7 separate regions of the Homo sapiens genome follow, and all the other regions are linked to region 3. Evidence: promoter capture Hi-C in 16 types of primary human blood cells and fetal thymus (Javierre and others, 2016). All regions are on one chromosome and are shown on one strand. Each heading gives the region's core, a stretch centred on a gene start or on the middle of the fragment in contact. The rest is flanking DNA. Distances are from core to core; before and after follow the strand shown. Region 1 holds the start of APLP1 (amyloid beta precursor like protein 1). Region 2 holds the start of NPHS1 (NPHS1 adhesion molecule, nephrin). Region 3 holds the start of DMKN (dermokine). Region 4 has its middle 1.8 kb from the start of FXYD1. Region 5 overlaps FXYD5 (FXYD domain containing ion transport regulator 5). Region 6 has its middle 30 kb from the start of FXYD5. Region 7 overlaps NPHS1 (NPHS1 adhesion molecule, nephrin).

Evidence for each region. The method cuts DNA at HindIII sites, captures the fragments that hold promoters and counts their contacts. A CHiCAGO score of 5 or more calls a contact.
Region 1: a contact is called between the fragment with the promoter of APLP1 here and the fragment with the promoter of DMKN in region 3, in 2 of 17 cell types (M2 macrophages and M1 macrophages). The highest score is 5.6, in M2 macrophages.
Region 2: a contact is called between a fragment that was not itself captured here and the fragment with the promoter of DMKN in region 3, in 2 of 17 cell types (M0 macrophages and M2 macrophages). The highest score is 7.6, in M0 macrophages.
Region 4: a fragment that was not itself captured here is called in contact with the fragment with the promoter of DMKN in region 3 in 6 of 17 cell types (naive CD8 T cells, total B cells, naive CD4 T cells and 3 more); the score reaches 6.2 in naive CD8 T cells.
Region 5: a contact is called between a fragment that was not itself captured here and the fragment with the promoter of DMKN in region 3, in 11 of 17 cell types (total B cells, naive B cells, monocytes and 8 more). The highest score is 11.2, in total B cells.
Region 6: a fragment that was not itself captured here is called in contact with the fragment with the promoter of DMKN in region 3 in 6 of 17 cell types (monocytes, total B cells, neutrophils and 3 more); the score reaches 11.1 in monocytes.
Region 7: a fragment that was not itself captured here is called in contact with the fragment with the promoter of DMKN in region 3 in 4 of 17 cell types (M1 macrophages, M0 macrophages, M2 macrophages and 1 more); the score reaches 7.4 in M1 macrophages.

Annotation. Positions count from the first base shown.
Region 1 is chr19:35,866,972-35,869,973 of GRCh38, forward strand. APLP1 (amyloid beta precursor like protein 1) reads left to right here and starts at 1,603. Exons shown (of 17, transcript NM_001024807.3): 1 at 1,603-1,812; 2 at 2,696-2,839. The coding sequence starts at 1,666. It overlaps LOC107985317 (a long non-coding RNA gene), which reads right to left and starts at 2,386. Exons shown (of 4, transcript XR_001753932.2): 1 at 2,121-2,386; 2 at 904-1,159. It overlaps KIRREL2 (kirre like nephrin family adhesion molecule 2), which reads left to right. Exons shown (of 15, transcript NM_199180.4): 15 at 1-165. RefSeq lists silencers at 1,424-1,683, 1,774-1,843. The HindIII fragment of the contact is 13,044 bases long and covers 1-3,002 here.
Region 2 is chr19:35,849,446-35,852,707 of GRCh38, forward strand. NPHS1 (NPHS1 adhesion molecule, nephrin) reads right to left here and starts at 3,059. Exons shown (of 29, transcript NM_004646.4): 1 at 2,335-3,059; 2 at 2,012-2,227; 3 at 1,817-1,939; 4 at 1,516-1,644; 5 at 919-1,000; 6 at 105-208. The coding sequence starts at 2,392. It also overlaps a transcript of KIRREL2 not described here. RefSeq lists enhancers at 1,705-2,345, 2,346-2,987. The HindIII fragment of the contact is 835 bases long and covers 834-1,668 here.
Region 3 is chr19:35,512,163-35,515,008 of GRCh38, forward strand. DMKN (dermokine) reads right to left here and starts at 1,487. Exons shown (of 16, transcript NM_033317.5): 1 at 888-1,487; 2 at 428-628; 3 at 259-315. The coding sequence starts at 1,313. The HindIII fragment of the contact is 13,607 bases long and covers 1-2,846 here.
Region 4 is chr19:35,135,439-35,138,590 of GRCh38, forward strand. It overlaps a transcript of FXYD1 not described here. Among named protein-coding and RNA genes, the nearest start is that of FXYD1, 1.8 kb to the right of the region's middle. The HindIII fragment of the contact is 1,017 bases long and covers 1,100-2,116 here.
Region 5 is chr19:35,161,260-35,164,156 of GRCh38, forward strand. It overlaps FXYD5 (FXYD domain containing ion transport regulator 5), which reads left to right. Exons shown (of 9, transcript NM_014164.6): 6 at 2,897. Among named protein-coding and RNA genes, the nearest start is that of FXYD5, 8.0 kb to the left of the region's middle. The HindIII fragment of the contact is 159 bases long and covers 1,535-1,693 here.
Region 6 is chr19:35,183,519-35,186,677 of GRCh38, forward strand. No RefSeq gene overlaps it. Among named protein-coding and RNA genes, the nearest start is that of FXYD5, 30 kb to the left of the region's middle. The HindIII fragment of the contact is 8,299 bases long and covers 1-3,159 here.
Region 7 is chr19:35,831,881-35,835,089 of GRCh38, forward strand. The region is part of intron 23 of NPHS1 (NPHS1 adhesion molecule, nephrin); the gene reads right to left. Among named protein-coding and RNA genes, the nearest start is that of NPHS1, 19 kb to the right of the region's middle. The HindIII fragment of the contact is 4,977 bases long and covers 1-3,209 here.

The DNA of each region.
Region 1 (3,002 bases), core at 353-2,852, 350 kb after region 3:
CTCCCTAGGAACCCAAGATGGCCACCATCTTGATTTTACTTTCCTTAAAGACTCAGAAAGACTTGGACCCAAGGAGTGGGGATACAGTGAGAATTACCACTGTTGGGGCAAAATATTGGGATAAAAATATTTATGTTTAATAATAAAAAAAAGTCAAAGAGGCAAGTGTGTCTTAGGGAGTCTACTGGCATTATCACTCTCCACCAAGGAAGGGGTCCCTTAGACCTGTCCCAAGGTCCCTCCTCTACCCTAGCCTATGAGGTGGCTGTAGGAGTAAAACTGTGAGCCACCTCTCAGCCTCTTGCTACCTGCAAAGCACTCTAGGCTCTTTTTTTTTTTTTCTTGAGACAAGATCTGGCTCTATGGCCCACATTGGAGTGCAGTGGCATGATCTCAGCCCACTGCTACCTCTGCATCCTGGGCTCAAGCCATCCTTCCACCTCAGCCTCCCAAGTAGCTGGGACTACAGGTGCATGCCACCACACCCAGCTAATTTTTGTATTTGTTTGTAGACAGGGTTTCACCATGTTGGCCAGGCTGGTCTCAAACTCCTGACCTCAAGTGATCCGCCCACCTAGGCCTCCCAATGTGCTGGGATTACAGGCATGAGCCACTGTGCCCAGCCATGGGCTCTTTTAATATACATCTTCACACACACACACACACACACACACACGCACACACACACATGAGTTGCAAACAGAAAAGACACACACATAGGCATGTATGCACAGACACACGCATAGATGTCCACACAGTTGCACACAAGTGACAGGGCTGCCCCAGGGGTCCTGGGGAAGACTGAATTCTAACTCTCATTAGAGGAGACAAACAAGTGAGCCCTGAAGTGGAGCAGGGAAGGGGAGACTATGGGTAGGAAAATGGCAATCCCCTGGTCCTTACAGCAAGCGTGGAGATCCAGACCCTAATCCTGAGGTGCTGCATCCACAGTGGGCATGGTGCTGGTGCCTGCTTGGATGATCCTTAAAGAAAGGTCCTGGGGGCTTTGGTTCATGGATCCTTGAGCTAGGAGTTAAAGGTCCAGGCCCCTGGGACCCTTGGGAAGCAGAGCAAGAAGAGTGAACTCCTGGGTCTGAAGGAGAATGGGCTGGGGGCTTGGTCTCTGGTCCTGAGAGAGAAGGTGCCCAGACTTCTGGATCTGAAAGAGGAAGGGACTAGGTCTCAACTGCTGCCTTCTTGACTGGGGACATTTTGGAGGCCTGTATTCCTGAGCCCTCAACAGAGGAATGTACTAGGGGATGGGGGTCTCTGATGCTTGCATCCTTGGAAAAGGACAAAACTGTGAGTGTCTGGGTCTAAAGAGGGTGAGAGTCCTGCGGGAGGACTCAAAATCCACAACGGGCGGAGCCCATAGCCGGACTCCTGGCTGGGCCCTTCATGGGGCGGGACGCCTGGAATCTCGAGGGGCGGGGGCCTGGCGCAGGCTCCCGCCCGGGGTTCCCGAGCTGCTCCACTCTGCGCGAAGCCGCCACGCTATTGTCCTGACCAGGAAGGCGGGGCCGGCGCGGGGCGGGGCTGGCGGCGCCGGCGCAGCCCGGGGGCGGCGGGAGGAGGAGGTGGCGGCGGTGGCGCTGGGAGCTCCTGTCACCGCTGGGGCCGGGCCGGGCGGGAGTGCAGGGGACGTGAGGGCGCAAGGGCCGGGACATGGGGCCCGCCAGCCCCGCTGCTCGCGGTCTAAGTCGCCGCCCGGGCCAGCCGCCGCTGCCGCTGCTGCTGCCACTATTGCTGCTGCTTCTGCGCGCGCAGCCCGCCATCGGGAGCCTGGCCGGTGGGAGCCCCGGCGCGGCCGAGGTGAGGCCGGGCCGGGTCCTGGGGGATGGGGGAAGGGGCGGGACCGGGTCTCTGGACGCCGGCGCGGACATGTCCAGGGCAGAAAGCGCGGTCTTTCCAGCCAGGTGGTCAGCCCCCAGGCGCCCCCAATCACATTTATGAACCCAGGGTTCCAGGCCCCAGCTCCCCCATCATGCGACGTCCCAGCCCCCTCCCATCTCGAGCATAGGAACTGGTCTATTCAGAGCCCCTGGTCCCAGAAGTCCAGCCCCCTCTCCAGACCCAGGTGACTCGGCCCCAACCCCCTCCCGCCTGGACATAGGACCCACCAAGCAGCGAGGCATTTAGATCCAATAATCCAGACCCCTTGTATTCTCTGGACCCATATGGAGGCCCTTGCAGCCTCCCAGGACCCAGGAGTCCAGTCCTTCAGTCACCACCCACCCCAACCAGATGTAGCTCTCCAGTCCTCAAGGACCTGGTGTCCAGGACTGTAGGCCCCTGAAGCCAGGCCTTGTCAGCTTTGCATCCTGCAACGGGAGCCTGAGCAAGGGATGGAGGGAGGAGGGGCCAGAACTCCTGGGTTCTGGCCTCCTCCTCCGCGATTCAGGTTTAACCCCTTCGGGCTCCAGAGCGGCTGCGCTGGGGTGGGGGCGGAGTCTGTCTCCGCGGCAACAAGGCAGAAAGAATCCCGGGGGACCCAGGTCGCCATAGCAACGGGAGCGCTGGGGCGCCCCCGCCCTACGGGAGCTGTTTCCCAGGGAACGGTGCCTCCATGGAGGCGGTGTGCGGTGCTTGGGGGAGGGGGCTGGTGCTGGGGGTCTCGGTCCTAGGGAGCAAAGAACCAGGGGACCCTCATGCCAACGCCCCCCGAGCCCTCACTGTCCTTTCCACTTCCATCCAGGCCCCGGGGTCGGCCCAGGTGGCTGGACTATGCGGGCGCCTAACCCTTCACCGGGACCTGCGCACCGGCCGCTGGGAACCAGACCCACAGCGCTCTCGACGCTGTCTCCGGGACCCGCAGCGCGTGCTGGAGTACTGCAGACAGGTGGGCGGGGCCGAACGGGAGAGGCGGGGCCGCCCATAGAAAGCTAGACTTGAAAAAGGCGTGGTCCAGGGTGCTGCGCGATCTAAGGCGTGGAGGCTGGGGGGCGTGGCCAATAAAGAGGCGCAACTATGCTAGGGGCAGGGGACCTGTTTTGAGATACTAA
Region 2 (3,262 bases), core at 1-2,500, 340 kb after region 3:
GTTTCTCTGAGTGCCTGAATTTCCATAATCCCTGTGATCCCCCCACACCCCCCAGTGCCTGCTCCCCATCCTCAGCGCCCTAGTTGGCCCAGTTCTCCACTTACACAGAACATTCACGGTGAATGAGGCCTTGATGGGGGCCTCCAGTGCTGGGCTAGACGCCTCACAGACCAGCAACTGCCTATTATCTGAGCTCCGGGGTGTCACCCTGGGATGAGAAGTCAGGGTTATAGAGTCAGAGTCATCATCTGAAATTTGGGGAGTCAGGGAGAAGAGGTGGGGATGTCACCTCTGGTCCCCACACCTGGTCTAAGTCCCCATGCTGATCTCCTCTGGGATCCAGGGTTCCATGGGAGAGATTTTGGGGGTGAACAGTGAGAATTGGAGCCTAGAGAGCCCCACATCTGACCAAAACTTTAGTGCTTGGGACTCTAGAACTGAGGTTCCCATGAAGTTTTTTTGTTTGTTTATTTGTTTGTTTGTCTTTTGAGACAGAATCTGGCTCTATCACCCAGGCTGGAGTGCAGTGGTACAATCTCAGCTCACTGCAACCTCCACTTCTTGGGTTCAAGTGATTCTCCTGCCTCAGCCCCCTGAGGAGCTGGGAGTACAGGCATGCGCCACCACACCCGGCTAATTTTTGTATTTTTAGTGAAAACAGGGTTTCACCATGTTGACCCAGCTGATCTTGAACTCCTGACCTCAGGTGATCCGCCCACCTCAGCCTCCCAAAGTGCTGGGATTACAGGCATGAGCCACCACCTCTGTTCCCCATGAAGAAGCTTTGAGAGTCAGGATGAAGAATTGGGTCCCAGATGTTCATACCTAGCCCAAGCTTCATGCTTGCATCCCTGGGGTCTGGGGTTCCCATGGGGAAAATTAGGGGTCAAGGTTGGGGGGTTGTTTCAGTTTCCACACCTGGCTGTGGCCTCCACAGTGAAGAGTTTCTGCTGGGAGCCCTCGTTCACGTTTGCAGAGATGTCAGATATTGTCTGTCCACCTTGGGGCAGCAAGAGGGCTAGAGGGGTTCCAGGCTCCCCGCAAGATAGATTCTGGGGAGCATGGCCTGGAAGTCCTCAGGGTGGGTGCGATGCCCCCTCCCTCCTCGTTCTAGAGGAAAAGGGCCTGGGGCAGAGCTGCATCCCCTCCCGACTTTCTGGACTGCCTGAATGCCGCAGTCTTCAGTGCTGGGTCCTGGGCCTCCCCGCTCTTCTCAACTCCTTGCTGGGTTGTACCATGCACCCTATCCCTCAGCTTCTCATGTCTGCACCAGCGCTACTGCCCATATTTCTATCTGGGCCTCAGCCTTGTGCTGGTTGCTGCCGCCCTCGATGTGCCCTCGCATCCACTGGGTCCCACACTGGCCTCAGCATCTCCCCACACCTTCTCCTGGGTCCCCATCCCAGGGATGACATCTTTTCTGGGGCCCTTAGAAGGGTACTGGTCAGGAACACACACCCTTCCCACTCCAGAGGCTTCATGCTGCCCCCTGCCACCCAGTTCACCCACACTCACTCAGGAGAATGGTGATGTCAGGTGCTGGCTTCGCGTCCCCAGACACACAGTTGACCACGTACTCCTGCCCAGCTACCCAGGTGACCATGGTGCCTGCCTCTGGGGTCAGCAGGAGCAGCTTGGGAGGAACTGGTGAGAGAAGGGTCTGGGGTAAGCTTCCAGCACTGAGAAGGACTTGAAGATTGGAGTTCGGTACCCAGAGTCTGGGAGAGGAGAGGCTGGGGGCTTGGACTTCCGGGTTGCGGGGTAGGGGAGGGCTTGAAGCCCAGACTCATGGGTCCTGGGCGTCTCTCACCCATACCCAGGATGGAGAGGATCACTCTGGGAGACACGAGCTCGGGCCCCATCTCAGAGCGGCCGACCTGGCACTCATACTCCGCGTCATCGCTGAGGTCACAGGCCTCGATGTGCAGGTGGAATTCACCTGCAGGGGGAGCCGGAAGTCAGGGCCGCAGCTTCCGCTGGTGGCTGAGGGTCTCAGGCTCTGATCCCTTACCTCTAGCAGGGTCCCCTTCCAGGCGGTACCTCGGGAAGCCTGGGATCCTGGGGTCGGGGCCCAGGAGCAGCCCATCTTTGGCCCATTGCACCGCACTGCCAGGGGTGCTGACCCCACAACGCAGCTCCACTGAGGCCCCCTCCACCACCGTCAGGTTTTCAGGCAGGGCCCAGAAGCCCCGGGGAACGGAGGCAGGAATCGCCAACTGCGCCAGGCCTGAGGACACAGCGCGGTGCAAGGAAAGGGCAGAGGGTTTGTCTAGGGAAGGTAAGTGGGAAATGGGGGCCACTTGGCGCTGGGTACAAGGCTGGGATCCCACTCACCTTCAGTCAGCAGCCCCAGGAGCAGGAGAGAAGCCCTGAGCGTCGTCCCCAGGGCCATCACAGGTCCCCCTACTGTGACCCCCACAGCGCCCGCTGCCAGCCACCTGCGTCTGTCTGGCTTTCTCTGGGTCCCTCTCTGTGTGTCTCTGCCACCTGCTTTTCTTTTTTATCTCTTTCCGTTACTCTCCTCCCTTTCTCGTTTTCCTCTTCCCCTCTTCCCTGTGAGTATCTCTCTCTGTCTTGCTCTCAGTCTCAATCTCTGAGTCTCTTTCTCTGTCTCTTTAAAAAAACTTTTTTTTCTTTTTTCTTTTTTTTTTCTTTTTTTTTTTTTTAGAGACGGGGTCTCACTATGTTGGCCAGGTTGATCTCAGACTCTTTCCTTCAAGCCATCCTCCCACCTTGGCCTCCCCAAGTGTTGGGATTACAGGCGTGAGCCACTGCGCCCAGTCTCTTTATCTTTCCATCTTTCTCTCCTTGTCTAAGCCGTTCTCTCTCCTTTTGTCTCTGTCTCTTCCTCTCTCTCTGTCTCTCTCTCTCTCTCTCTCTCAATCTCTATCTTCTCTCCTGCCACCCCTCACTCCTGCTCCTTGTCTCACTACTCACAGCCTTTCAAGAAGGACCTGCAGCCCAGAGTCCAGCAGGCCAGGAGCCTAGGAGAGCGATGAGGCTGATGCAGGCACTGGCAGAGTCAGCCCTGCTCTCTGACCCAGCTTGAGCTCATTCTCACAGTGCAACCTCCCCCAGGTACCTTCCAGAGCCCCCAGCTCTGGCCTCTGCCCAGCAGGCTCCTCCCAGCTGGCCCAGCTGGAGCATAAAATCCCCTGTCAGCACATGCCAGGCGCGTTCCTCGGTGCCTCCCCAGCCTCCGTGACCCCAGGGCCTGGCTTAGGCTGGGAAGATGGGAGAAGTCAGATCAAGGTGGTCTCCC
Region 3 (2,846 bases), core at 237-2,736:
GATTTTTGTATTTTTAGTGAAGACAGGGTTTCACCATGTTGACCAGGCTGGTCTTGAACTCCTGACCTCAGGTGATCCACGTGCCTTGGCCTCCCAAAGTGCTGGGATTACAGGTGTGAGCCACCTCGCCCAGCCCCATCTCTTCCTCTCACCCCAATCCCTCCACTCCCCCATCTTGCTTTCCTCTTTGTCTTTCCCCAGCTCTCTGTAGCCTGCACCCAGTGGCTTCTTCATTTGTTCCCAGCCCCTTCCTCTTACCCCTTCATTCTGGTTGCTGGCTCTCACTGAACCATAGCCAGGCTGGGCCACAGCTCCCTGCAGAGAGGGTGAGACTGAGAGTAGGATCCAGAGGGACCAGGGAGGCACGCGGAGCATGTGGGCTTGGAGGGAGGGAGGTGGCAGGTAGCAGGTCTGGGGGTGACTTTACCTGAGTGTTGGTCCCAAAGTTTGGTGGCCCTCCATTGCCTCCTTGACCCCAGGGAGCTCCCTGAGGATTCATTCCAAAGCTGCCTGCTGAGTTTCCGGGGTATCCGTGGACCCACGGAGTCCCCAGACCTCCAGGATTGCCCTGGCCCTGGCCTCCAAGGCCACCTTGAGAGCCAAAGATGCCATGGCCTCCAGAAGTTTCCTGCAAGAACAACATACCTGCACTTAGTGGGACCATCTCTGACCCTGGTAGAGAAGAGCCAGGGCAAATCATAAAGAGACCAGGAGAGAGACAGGCAGAGGGACTCCAGGGTGGCATAGGAGGGGGGCAGAACATAGAAGGAAGCTGCCCCAGAAGCCTGCAAGTAAGAGATCCATCCATCCTTTCAACCGTTTCCCAAGAATCTCAGCCCAGCAGCCCACAGCCTCCCATTTCCACATGCAGCCCCACAGCCACTCACCCAAGCACCATTGTGGCCAGGCACCCCCTGCCAGGAGCCGCGGACAGCATCTGCTCCGTGTCGAATGACATCTTCTGCCTGTCTGCCAATCTCGTGCCCAGTGTTTCCCAGAGCATGGGCTGCTTCCCCGACCCTGTTGCCCAAAGCATCTGCTACGCCAAAGCCTGGAACCTGCCTGACTCCAGTGCCAACTGCTTCTCTGGTCCCTTGGCCAAGGGCCTCACTGACTTTAGAGCCAGCTGCCCCTCCGGCCTCTTTGCCAATGGCCTTTCCCACCCCTTCGCTCAGGGCGTCTCCCAGGCCATGTCCAAGGGCCTCCCCAATATTTGTCCCAGTGCTTTCCTCTCCGCTCTGCAGGGGGCCAGCCTCCCCACTGCCCAGGCAGAGGGCCAGCAGGAGGCAGGCCAGGGGCCCCTGGAACTTCATCTCTGCCCAGCCCCCTCTCTCTCCAGAGTGTCTTCCTCCCACCAGGGTCTCCTCCTTGCCGCCCTTGCTCTGCGTCTCTGTGCCCTCCTCTGTCCTCCTCCTTCCGACTCCCTGTCCTCCCTCCCTCTGGGTCTGCAGCCTTCTCTCTCCTGTCCTCAACTGCCTGGGCTTCTCAGAGTCCACCTCCCTGTCACTACTCCTTATACTCTAGGTTGGGAGAAGGTGACAGGGCTGGGCAACCTGAGGTCCCTCCCCGCAGTGACTCAGGGCCCAGCCACCAATAGGGTAATCAGCTGTTATTGTGAGTCTGAGAGTCTCTGTCGAAACAGAGAGTGAGCCGCATCAGGGAGGGAGGGAGAAATGGATGAGGTGATGCAAAAGTGCTCCCATTTCCCAACCCCAGGCATTCGGGGAGCTGGGTGGGGGCAGGGGCATCTAAGGAGACAGGTTGTCGTTGGCTCCTGGAGGCGGTGGGGTGGGGGCAGACTTAGAAGAGAGGAGTTACTGGCAGGACCCCACCAAAGGAGTAAGGACAGGGAAGCCCCAGGGGACAGGACCCACCCAGGCTCAGCCAGCCTGGCTCAGGGGCTCCAGAGTGACAGGCATTGCCCGTCCTCGGCCTGGCCTTTCTCGGTTTCAGCACCTCAGCCTCTCCTCTCCCTCTCCCCTCCCGCATTGCCACCTACAGGTGACTGCCTTCTTGTTCCTCCACACCTTCCAGCCCACAGAGAGAGACTGGCAAACACGGGGCTGCGTGTCAGTTTCTGAGATTCTGGGGAGAGCCCCCGGGGGGACCCTCGGTGTCGGGGAAGGAGGTGGCCATAGCCCTTTGAGTGGTCAGCAGGGTGTCTCAGCGTTCAGGCTGCTCCCGGCTGAGAAAGCTGGGCGCGGAGCAGGGCAGCCAGGCGCGCCAGCCACCCCCAGGGAACGAGTGGGAGGGAAGGCCAAGGGAGGGAGCCGCTGACCCAGGCACCCATCCTGTTTACGCAGCCCTAGAGGGGCACGTGTGAGTATAAGCGCCTATGAGGGGCGGGACTGGGCCAGCTCACCCCACCCATCCCCCAGGCCAGGGGCCAGGGCAGCAATGGCAAGCGAGAAGAGGGTAGCGCAAGGTCAGGAGCCATCCGTGAGAGCCACGGCCCTCTCCCCAGTCCCAGCTCGGGATACAGAACCTGGGAGCCTCCCCCCGCCTCACCCCTGCCCAGCAAGTGTGGCTGCTTCTCTATTCCCAGGGGCCACAGGGCCTCCCACTGTTTCGTATCACTGGGGTTCATCGCCCAGTTAGGAGGGGCCAGTTTCCATCAGCCTTTCTCAATGTCTCTCAGTCAGTCTCTCTCTTCTCTCCACCCCAATATCCGCACCCCAGCTTATAACATCCAACACTTCTTACCTTGTAAACACTATCCCCATCTGTCCTCCTCAGCTCCTACTTCCCTGTTATTCCATCTCTGACTCGTTAATGATGATAATAGCGATGGTGGTAATAATAATAATAATAATAATAATAATTACAGCTCCAGCTTATCAGCGGTT
Region 4 (3,152 bases), core at 358-2,857, 380 kb before region 3:
GAGAGGCCCTGGGGGGGCTGGGGACATCCCGTCCTGGCCACTCTCTGCCAGCCCCCTCCCCTGGCTACAGGAGGGTGTGTTGGGCGCTGTCAGTGGGGCCAGATCACGTCCAGCTGCTCCCTCTGGTGGTCATACTCGGCAGGACCTCTGCCCGGCCCCAAGCCCTTAGCCTCCCTCCCCTACCCTGAAATTAACCCTCTAGTGGCCAACACCCACTGGGGGACAGCACCAACCCGAGGACATGATGATGATGAAGATGATGATGATGGTGAAGATGATGATGATGATGCCACCCCTTCTTCAGCGTCTACTCTGAGCCTGGCCTTGTCCTAAAAGCTCATCTATTAACTCATTCTGATCTTGCCAAAGCCCTCTGAAGTTAGTGCTGTCATCATCACCACTTTACAGCTGGAGGAAGTGGAGACAGAGGTCAGGGAACCTGAACTCTAGGTTACCCAGCTGAGGGCACAGCCGGGATTCAAACCCAGGCATCCGGCTCCAGGTTATTTTGCATTCTTTCTTTGGAGATCAGAGTTCATGGATAGATGGATAATTGGTTGTTTTAATCTGGACTAAATTTTAGTCATTTGGATAGATTCTGTCCACTAAATAAGAAACATAAGTAAATGACACTTGTTAGCTAAGATGAAATAGTAGTAATGTTTATACTCACTCAGCCTTCACAGCCACCCTGTGAGATGGGCAGTACTGCTATCCCTGCTTTACAGATGGGGAAACTGAGGCACAGGGAAGTTATGTGATTAGTTTCCTGGCTCTAGTCAGCTCTAAACCTAACCCCTAGGCTGTACCACCTCATCGCCTGGGGACGAGACTCATCCTGTGATTGAGGAATGCATGCAGCCTCTCTTGACACTGACGCCCACGCCCAGAAGCCTCGTTGGAGGATAAGGGGGCTTAACAGCTTGGAGGTCATGCAGATCTGGGTTCCAGGCCCAGTCCTGTGTGGCCTCAGTTTTCCCATCTGTCAAACGGGGACAATCGTGGCACCCGCTTCCCAGTTGTGGAGAGGACTCAGGTGATGGAGGCAACTCATCCTTTTGGGGTTCAGCACAAGGTGGGCATCCCACAGTGGTCGGCAAGCTTGGGGGTGGGCTCCGGATCCAGCTCCTAGAGGAGCAGACCCCAGCAGCTTGTGGTTTGAGCCATGCCCGTCAGCTCTCAGTTTCCTTCACTGACTATTGGGTATGATAAACAGGGTCCCTGAAAGTGAAGTTGGAGAGCTGAGTGCCAGGGGCACAGAGGGATCTGAACCCACTCTCATAGGGTGCCCAGCCCAGCAGTCCAGTTCACAAGGAGGAGGATGACAAGGACAATAATAATAGGCCAGGCACGGTGGCTCATTTCTGTAATCCCACATTTTGGCAGGCTGAAGTGGGAGGATCGCTTGGGGCCAGGAGTTCAAGACAAGCCTGGGCAACATAGAGAAACCCCGACTGTACAAAAAATTAAAAAATTAGCCAGGCATGGTGTCGCACGCCCATAGTCCCAGCTACTCAGGAAGCTGAGGTGGGAGAATCACTTGAGCCCATGAGGTTGAGGCTACAGTGAGCTATGATTGTGCCATTGCACTTCAGCCTGGGTGACAGAGCAAGACCCGGTCTCAAACAAACAAACAAAAAATGAAGTTAATCATAAGACAATGTCAAGTTCAGAGACCTCTGAGCCCTGTCCAGGATTATACACGTGATCTTAGTGATTTTTCCATTTTGGAGCATGTGAAAATGAGGCACAGAGCTGCTCAAGTTCACACAACCAGGAGTGCAGTGCCTGGGCCATTCCAGGTTTCCCTGTCACCAGGACCTGTAAACCTGGCCTGCCCATGGGGACGCCAGGTGTGTTGTCCCCGACAAGAGCTCAGGGGAAGGAAAGTGTGGGGTTAAATACATATCTGTGGTTTTGGAATGTGTGAACATGCAAGTGTGTCAGCCTGCGCATCTGTCACCGTGGCCAACCATGTGCCTGTTTGCTCAAGCATAGGGTGTGAACCAGTGTGTGTGTTTCTGCTTTTGTGGGTATGTGTGAGAGCGGCGGGTTGTCCTTGATGGTGTTTCTGCTTGTGTATCTGTGCCCATGGAAATCTGTCTGTGTGTACACAAGCTTGTTGGCCTTCCTATCTTTGGGACCATGTAGGAGTGCTGGCTGCATGTCTGTACCTTTGGGGTTTTTTTGTTTTGTTTTTGTTTTTGAGACAGAGTCTCGCTCTGTTGCCCAGGCTAGAGTGCAGTGGCATGATCTCAGCTCACTGCAAGCTCTGCCTCCCGGGCTCAAGTGACTCTCCTGCCTCAGCCTCCGGAGTAGCCGTGATTACAGGCGCACGCCACCACACCCAGCTAATTTTTGTATATTTTTTTAGTAGAGACGAGCTCTCGTCGGGTTGGCCAGGCTGGTGTTGAACTCCTGGCCTCAAGTGATCCTCCCGCCTTGGCCTCCCAAAGTGCTGGGAGTACAGGTGTGAGCCACCGTACCTGGCCATGTTTGGCCATGCATCTTAGAATGCATTTATGTGCGGTGTGCACATACTTGTGTGTTTCTGTATGGCCATTTGTGGGTGGGTCTTCACATAAACATGCATTTTTGTGGCCAGTTTGTGAGTGTAGATGGTGATGTGGCTATGTCTTTGACTGTATCTCTGTGTGGCCATCCATCTACATGAGCGTGCGTGGGTCTGTGTAGACATAAATGTGCTTGTTCTGGTATTTTGTGACTGGCATAAAAGGTGTTGGCTGTGTGTCCGGGTCTTTGGGTTTCTCTATCAGTGTGTCATTCTGTGTGTGTCTGCTTCTATGGATGTACATACATACATGGTTTTGTCTGGTTTTGTACCTGTATATCTGGGTCTTTGGGATTGTGTGTGGGTGTGTGTGTGTGGTGCATTTCTGGGGATCTCACCACAGCAGATAGCGCACATGCGCGCGCACACACACACACACACACACACCTCCCTCCCGTCCTCTAAAACAGCCCTGTTAAGGACCTCACGGAGCACTGGGATCGGGGGTCAGTGGGCTCCTGGGCAGTCAGGCTGGGTGACCTTCGGCCCTGGCTGGACCCAGTTCCCAGGGGGCAGCCGCCTCAGCCCAAAAGCTCTTGGAGGCGTGTGTGTTTGTGTGTGTGTGTGTTCACAACCCTGT
Region 5 (2,897 bases), core at 364-2,863, 350 kb before region 3:
GGCTATATAAGTTCTGGAAAGTCCAGAAGTAGCCAACTTCAGGCATAGCTGGATCAAGGCGAGTAAGCACTGTCATGAGTGCTTTGTTCCCTCTCTTGGTTCTGTTGTCTTCATTCTCTACTAACTTCTCCCCTCTTGATGGCAGAGATGGTCCCATAGTTCTAACTTTAGGTCACATACGTGGTGGCTAGAGAACAAAATCTTTCCCATTATTTCTAGCCTGAGGCCTAGAATTGACTCTCATTGGTTCAGCTGGAGTCACATGCTCATGTCTGAACCAATGAGAGCCTGAGAAATGAGCTGCTCTCATTGGTCAGGCCTGAGTCTTGTGCCCCACCCTGGGGCTAGAGAAGAGGCTCAGCCAGCCATGCCTGAACCACATAGACCAAGAGTCAGGGAAGAGGGGATTTTCCTTTGGACAAGTGAGTTAGTATTACCAGAAGGTGTGGGAAAGGAGACTGAGCTGAGATAAGGCAACAGATCGCCTCTAATGCCTGCGTGATGATCCTTATTTGAGGGGCAGCCCCACACTGGAAAGTGTTGTAGAGTAGGCCACTCCCAGAGAGACATGTACAGTTGTGCAGACTGGGTACTGAACGAGAGCACCACCTCTCGGGCAATGCCATTCCCTTTGTCGGTCTTTATAATTGTTCCAGTTTTCTAGTGATAGCAGCAAAGCATCTCATTCTTACAGAATCTATCTATTAAAACAATCCTACAATGGATGGAAATAAAGTGCTTTACAGAAGGGAACTTTTCTAGTTTGTACAAAAGTGCACCTGTAGGGGTGGGGGATAGCAGCTGTGTCCACACTTATCAATGATAAAGCATTCTCACATCACTGCATTAATTTACTGAGTCTTTGCTGACCTGAGTTGCTCTATGTATTGGTCCATGTTCCTGGATATATGTGACAGAAATTCATCAAGGACAAATGGCTGTCACTGCTGAGCCTCTGGGTTGCCTAGAGGCTGGGCATGAAAGCCCCCAGGGCCTCTCTTCCTCCTCTATCTTTGCTTCTCTTCCACCTAGGAAGGAAATGGCTCATGTTATTTGAGCCTCCTAGCTCAAAACTTCCAGACTTCACCTAGGGTTTTAATCTGCTCAGGTTACGATAACAAAATACCACAGACTGGATGGCTTAAACAATAGGAATTCATTTCTCCCGGTTCTGGAGATGGGAAGTCCAAGATCAAGGTGCCAGAAGGGTTGGTGTCTGTCGAGGGCTCCCCTTGGGTCACAGACAGCCATTCTCTTGCTCTGTCTTCACCATGTCCTCTCCATGTGTGGGTGGGCTTGTGAGCTTGAAAGCAAGCTCTCTGGTGTCTTCTTATAAGGGCACTAATCCCATCATGAGGGCCCCACCCTCATGATCCTATCTAACCCTAATTACCTCCCAAAGGCCCTCGCTCCAAAATACCATCACATGGAATTTGGTGGGGTGGATAGAATTCAGTCTATAGTACCTAGCTGTCACTCAATATCCCTACTTGGGATTTCAAAGGTCTCAGGGAAGGACCAGACTGAGGTCACAAGCTTCCTTTTGTAGCCTGGGTTATAACTGGGGAAGGGAGGGCAATGTCTTCCCACAAAGAAAGGGAGAGCTGTTCCAGAAGGAGGAAGAGTGCTGAGCAGACAGTAATAGCAATGGCTGACTTTTGCTGAGAGCTTGTTCATGCTGGGCACTGTGCTAAGCTTCTGTGTATTCAGTCATTTGATGCTTGTGATCATCCTGTGTGGTGGGAACTGTCATTACTCCCATTTTACAGGAAAAGGAACTGAGGCCCAGAGAGGTTACTCAGCTTGCCCTAGGCAATACAGCCAAGAGTGGCAGAACCGGAATTTGAGTCCAGACTGTCTCACCCCAGGGTGCATGAGCACCACACACCAGTATGGCTGTCCTTCGCATTCCTGTGGTCTCTGCCGTGGATCTGGCTTATACCTTCCTCTGGGCAATGCATTCCCTGAATATCTTGTAATCCTTGGTTGCCAGTTCCTATTTAGGGTGTGGGGCACTGAGATAATTCCAGGGAACTTGGGTTTCACGAGGGAGCTTCTCTGTCTGCTGGCTTCTTGTTGAGGCCTCCGATGTGGTGTGGGGGCACTTCTCAGTGCTTGGGGGAGGCCTTTTCTTTGGAGGTACTGATTTTTTTTTTTTTTTCAAGAGAAGAATCCTTTGGTATTTTCGGTCTGGGGGCAGAGGTGATATTCAGAATAGTTTTGTTGTTGTTGTTGTTTTTGAGACAGAGTGTTGCTCTGTTGCCCAGACTGGAGTGCAGTGGCGAAATCTTGGCTCACTGCAATCTCCACCTCCCGAGTTCAGGCAATTCTCCTGCCTCAGCCTCCCAAGTATCTGGGATTACAGGTGTGTGCCACCAGGCCCAGTTAATTTTTGTATTTTTAGTAGAGGCGGGGTTTCACCATGTTGGCCAGACTGGTCTTGAGCTCTTGGCTTCAGGTGATCTGCCCGCCTCAGTCTCCCAAAGTGCTGGGGTTTACAGACATGAGCCACTGCACCCAGCCAATATTCAGAATGTTTTACAAGTTTCTCCAGACTATGTAGCTGGGTCAGAGTCCTTGGCAGGTGTTGCCCTTTCGTTCCTTTATCTCCTGGATTATAGTGTGGGCCAGAAGGTCCTAGGAGAGGGGTCTGGAGTCCCTCGGGGATTGAGGCAGATCAGATAGTCGCAACCGGGGCTATGTGCTTATTTCAGCATTTCAATGCCTGTCATTACTTATTGCCTCTAGGTGTGGAGTAGGGGGGATGCCTGACCCTGCACACCAGCTGTGTAGATGTGGGAGAGGGGTTTCTTCCAGATGCAGACTCTCAGTAATATCCCTTGTTTCTGCCTCCATGGCTCACTCCTGCCCTCCACTGATCTGGCCACTCTCTCAGC
Region 6 (3,159 bases), core at 235-2,734, 330 kb before region 3:
AGGTTGCAGTGAGCCAAGGTCGTGCCACCGTACTCCAGCCTGGGCAACAGAGTGAGACAACATCCCCCGCCCAAAAAAATCAGGAAAACAGTTCATGATCAGAATGAAAAAAAATCAGTAAAGAGATGGATATCATAAAAAAAAACACATAAATTTTGGAGCTGAAGACTTAATAAATGATTTTTTTTTTTTTTTTTTTGAAACAGAGTCTTGCTCTTGTCACCCAGGCTGGAGTGCAATGGCATGATCTTGGCTCACTGCAACCTCTGCCTCCCAGGTTCAAGCAATTCTTCTGCCCCAACCTACTGAGTAGCTGGGATTACAGGCCCCTGCCACCATGCCCAGCTAATTTTTGTATTTTTAGTAGAGACGGGGTTTCGCCATGTTGGCCAGGCTGGTCTCGAACTCCTGACCTGGTGATCTGCCCACCTCAGCCTCCCAAAGTGCTAGAATTACAGGCGTGAGCCACCGATCCCGGCCAATAAATGAAATTTAAAATATAATTGAGAGCTTCAACAACAAACTAGGTCAAGCAGAAGAAAGAATTTCTAAACTTGAAGACAGGTCTCTTTTGAAATAACTCAATCAGACAAAAAATAAAATAAAAAAGAATGAAGGAAGCCTACAAGACCTATGGGACATTGTTAAGCAAACAGATATTCCAATTTCCAAAAGGAAAAGAGATGAGAAAAGACACAGAAATCCTATGTAATAAAGTAATAGCTGAGAACTTCCAAAGTCTCGGGAAAGGTATGGACATCCAGATTCAGGATGCTCAAAAGTCCCCAAATAGATTCAACCCAAAAAGGTCCTCTCTGTAGCACATTCTGGTCAAACTGTCAAAAGTTGAAGACCATGAGGGAATTTGAAAAACAGCAAGAGAAAAGCATCAAGTCACATATAAGGGAATCCCCATTAGACTAATAGAAGACTTCTCAGCAGAAACCTTATATTACAGGAGCGAATGGGATGATATATTCTAAGTGATGAAAGAAAAAAACCTGGCAGCCAAGAATACTGTAACAGCAAATCTATCCTTTAGAAATGAAGGAGTCATAAAGTCTTTCCCAGACAAGCAAAAACTGAGGGAATTTATTACCACTAAAGTAGCCTTACAAGAAATCCTCAAGGAGTAGTAAATCAGCAAATTATCTGAATAGGCATTTCTCAAAAGAAGACATACAAATGACCAACAAGTATATATGAAAAATATTCAACATCATTAATCATCTGGCAAATGCAAATTGATACTACAATAAGATATCATCTCACTCCACTTAGAATGGCTGTTATCAAAGAGAAAAAATAACAAAAGCTGGCAAGGATGCAGAGGAAAAGGAACTCTTATACACTGTTGGTGGAAATGTAAATTAGTACAATCATACTGGAAAACAGTATGGAGGCTCCTTAAAAACACCTAAAAATAGAACTATCCTATCTATGATCCAGCAATACACTCTAGGGTATATATTCAGAGGACAGGAAATGAGTATGTCAAAGAGATATCTGTACTTATATGCCAAAGATAAGGTAAGCATGGTTACTATAGTTGATAGTGAAGTCAAAATAGTAATAAGAATAATGTGACTCAAAGAGACCTTTGGCATTCACTACTTTATCATGGTATGCCTCGAAATGAAATAGATGGGGGAGCCTACTAAACTCTTGCTTGATCTGTCTAGGTGGGTAAGTTCTGAGTCTGGCAGACTTGCAGCACCATTCTCAATAGCCAAGATATGGAATCAACGTAAGTGTTTTTCAAGAGATGAATGGATAAAGAAAATGTGGTACAGATACACAATGGAATACTATTCCACCGTAAAAATAATGAAATCTTGTCATTTGTGGCAACATTAATGAGCCTGTAAGACATTATGTTAGGTGAATTAAGCCAAGCATGGGAAGATAAATACCACATATTCTCATTCATATGTGGAAGCTAAGAAAGTTGATATCATAGAAGTAGAGAATGTAATAGTGGTTACTAGAGGCTGGATAGGGGTTGAAGGGGATAGGAAGATGTTGGCAAATGGATACACAATTACAGCTAGATAGGAAAAATAACTTCCAGCATTCCTTAGCACTGTAGGATGACTATAATTAGCAATGATTTATTGCACCATTCCTCAGGACAATCAACCAGTCTGCTGATGGCTAATTAATTACGTCGAACTGTCTCTTTTTTAATTTTCTTTTCTTTTTTGAGACAGAGTCTCGCTCTTGTCACCTAGGCTTGAGTGCAATGGAACAATCTCGGCTCATTGCAACCTCCACCTCCCAGGTTCAAGAGATTCTCCTGCCTCAGCCTCCTGAGTAGCTGGGATTATAGGCATCCATCACCACACCCAGCTAATTTTCATATTTTTAGTGAAGACAGGGTTTCATCATGTTGGCCAGGCTGGTCTCAAACTGCTGACCTCAGGTGTTCCACCCATCGCAGCCTCCCAAAATGTTGGGATTACAGGTGTGAGCCACTGCGCCCAGCCACATTGAACTGTTCCTGTCATGGAAAGGGCAACTCTTTTTTCTTATTTTAATTTTTTAATTTTTGTAATAGAATTCGCTTACCATACAATTCACATGCCATACAGTTCACACATTTAAAGCATACAAGCCGATCTGATTATTTCACATTGCATGCCTGTATCAAAACATCTCATGTTCTCCATAAATAAATACACCTATGATGTACCCACAGCAATTAAAAATTTTTAAAAATCATGTACAAGTCAATGGTTTTTAGTATATCCATAGATATGTACAGCCATCATCACGATCAATTTAAAAACATTTTTTTTTTTTGAGAGAGAGTCTTGCTCTGTCACCCAGGCTGGAGTGCAGTGGCATGATCACGGCTCACTGCAAACTTGGCCTCCCGGGTTTACGCCTTTCTCCTGCCTCAGCCTCCCGAGTAGCTGGGACTACAGGTGCCCGCCACCACGCCCAGCTAATTTTTTGTATTTTTAGTAGAGCCGGGATTTCACCATGTTAGCCAGGATTGTCTCGATCTCCTGACCTCGTGATCCACCTGCCTCGGCCTCCCAAAGCGCTGGGATTACAGGTGTGAGCCACCGTGCCCAGACCAATTTTAAAATATTTTTATCACCCCCACAAAAGAAACCCAATGCTCCATAGCTATTTTCCTCCTGTTCCCAAATG
Region 7 (3,209 bases), core at 192-2,691, 320 kb after region 3:
GGGCAGAGGTCTCTGTGCCCACCCTTTCTGCCCACCCAAGGGCAGGTGGCTTCTTTCTTAAGTCAAGCCATTAGCAAAACTTCCTCCGTTTGCTTGAACTCTGCAAACTCAGAACGGAACTCTGGACTCAGGAGGGAGCTTCAGCTCGTTAGCTGGGCACTGAAGACTTTCTGTGGTCCAGCCTCTTCCCACGCCTCCAGCCATGCCCACCAAACTTAGACCCTGGTACTGGACTGTCCAGCCACACAAATCAACCACCAGCTGTTTCCAGAATCACTGAAGCAAATTCACACCTCAGAGCTTTGGAATAGTTAAGTGTCTGTCCTCAAATGTCCTTTCTTCTCAAGCAAACTTCTGTTTGCCTTTCAAATTCTATCTCAAGGTCAGGCGCTGCAGCACATGCCTGTAATCCCAGCATGTTGGGAGGTCAAGGTGGGAGAATCGCTTGAGCCTAGGAGCTCAAGACCAGCCTAGGCAACATAGTGAGGCTGATTCTTTACAAAAAAAATTAAAAATTTAGCAGCATGGTGGTGCATGTCTATAGTCCCAGCTACTCGGGACACTGAAGCAAGAGGATTGCTTGAACCTGGTAAGTCAAGGCTCCAGTGAGCTATGATAGCACCACTGCACTCCAGCCTGGGCAGCAGAGCAAGACCCTGCCTCTGAAAAAAAAATCCCATCTCAAGGACTTCTTTATTTTATTTTGTTTTTTAATTAAGACGGAGTTGGCTGGGCACGGTGGCTCACGCCTATAATCCCAGCACTCTGGGAGGCTGAGGGGTTGGATCACAAGGTCAGGAGTTCAAAACCAGCCTGGCCGATATGGTAAAACCCTGTCTCTACTAAAATACAAAAAATTAGCTGGGTGTGGTGGCAGGCACCTGTAGTCCCAGTTACTTGGGAGGCTGAGGCAGGGGAATCACTTGAACTGGGGAGGCAGAGGTTGCAGTGAGCCGAGATCACGCTACTGCACTCCAGCCTGGGTGACAGAATGAGACCCTGTCTCAAAAAAAAAAAAAAAAAAAAAAGAGTCTCACTCTTTCACCCAGGCTGGAGTGCAGTGGCATGATCTTGGCTCACTGCAACCTCCACCTGCAGGGTTCAAGCGATTCTTCTCCCTCAGCCTCCCAAGTAGCTGGGATTACAGGCGCATGCCACCACACCCGGCTAATTTTTTTTTTTTTTGTATTTTTAATAGAGACGGAGTTTCGCCATGTTGGACAGGCTGTTCTTGAACTCCTGGCTTCAAGTGGTCTGCCCACCTTGGCGTCCCAAAGTGCTGGCATTATAGGCGCGAGCCACCGTGCCCAGCCTCAAATGACTTCTTTCCACCAACTTCCATCCCAGCCAATATCAGGCTGACTTGGCTGCTATATCCCTGAGGACAAGGCTGAACCCCTCTAAGTAGGCATCTGTTGGGCGGGCAATCTCCCCTGTCTTCTACTAATAGCACTTTTTTCCCCTGGGGAGAACAGCCACTCCCCAATCTCAGTCTTGGGTTCAGGCAGGACTCCACAGTGGGCACATGGCCCGGCCTGGAAAATAAGAGTCTCCATTCCTCTCTCCACAGTGATTGTTTAGACACAGGCATTTGACCCAACGTGTGTTTTTAACAAAACATTTAGGACAATTCTACTAGCTGTCAAGAAGATGGAGGTGGAGGAGGGCTTCTCTGCCCCTCTGATTGAAGAAACTCAGAAAGAAGCCACCACAGATGAAGGCAAAGTTGAGAGAGGGTGAGAAACAGATCGCTGGTGAGATTTTTGAGCACCTGAAAGTGGCCACACTTGGAATTTTTTATTTCATATACCAAGACTTTTTCTTTTTTTTCTTGAGACAGGGTCTCAACTCTGTTGCCCAGGCTGCAGTGCAGTGGCGTGAGCTCGGCTCATTGAAGGCTCAACCTCCTGGGCTCAATCAATCCTCCCGCATCAGCCTCCTGAGTAGCTGGGACTGCAGGCATGCACTGCCATGCCTGGCTAATTTTTTTTGTTTTTGTTTTATAGAGATGGGGTTTCACCATGTTGCCCAGGTTTGTCTCCAACGTCTGGGCTCAAGTGATCTACCTGCCTCAGCCTCCCAAAGTTCCGGGATTATAGGCATGAGCCACTGTGCCCAGCCAAGCCATTCTTTTTCGTGTTGACAAAACAGCTGCATTTCTGTCACTTGCAACCTTTTTCTCGGGCTCTGAAGGGGATTTTTTTGCCAAATGGTTGCAATCATCTCCCAGTAGTCACATCCTTGAGTGCGGGGCCTTTCCACACTGACTCTGTGTTGAGCCATGTGACTTGCTTTGGCCAATGAGACACAACTATGACGGAATCAGCTAGTAAATTGCTGCTTTTGACCCCCGTGACCACCTCCATGTGAAAAAGTCAAGAAGAGACACGCGCCCAGTTATCTCCATTGTTCCAACCAAGAGCCAGATGACTATCAGAAGTGTGGGAAGGGGGCAACCCTAGACCACCCAGTCCAGTGGAGCTGCCAGCTGACTGCAGAGATGATTTAAGCCAGCCCAGACCAGCACTGTTCCGCCAGACTCAGAATCATGAGGAAGAATGTTGCTATAAGCACCCATGTTTGGGGTGGTTCATTATACAGCAAAAGCTAACTGATGCAGGCTTCTTACAGGACATGGAGTGAGCTAATTCTTACGGAATTAAACTAAATTTGGAAGAGAAGAAAATTTATCACTCCAGGCAAGAGGAAGATCTAAGAAAAAAAAAATTGGCCAGATGCAGTGGCTCACGCCTGTAATCCCAGCACTTTGGGAGGCTGAGGTGGGTGAATCATGAGGTCAGGAGTTAAAGACCATCCTGGCTAACGCGGTGAAACCTCATCTCTACTAAAAATACAAAAAATTAGCTGGGCGTGTTGGCACGTGCCTGTAGTCCCAGCTACTCGGGAGGCTGAGGCAGGAGAGGAAGCCGGGAGGTGGAGATAGCAGTCAGCCGAGATCGCACCACTGCACTCCAGCCTGGGCAACAAACAGAGCAAGAATCCATCTCAAAAAATAAAAAAATAAAAAAAAAAAATGCCGAGTGCCGTAGCTCATGCCTGTTATCCCAGCACTTTGGGAAGCTGAGGCAGGCAGATCACTTGAGGTCGGGAGTTCGAGACCAGCCTGGCCAACATGGTGAAACCCCGTCCCTACTAAAAAAGTACAACAATTAGCCAGGTGTGGTGGCAGGTGCCTGTAATCCCAGCAA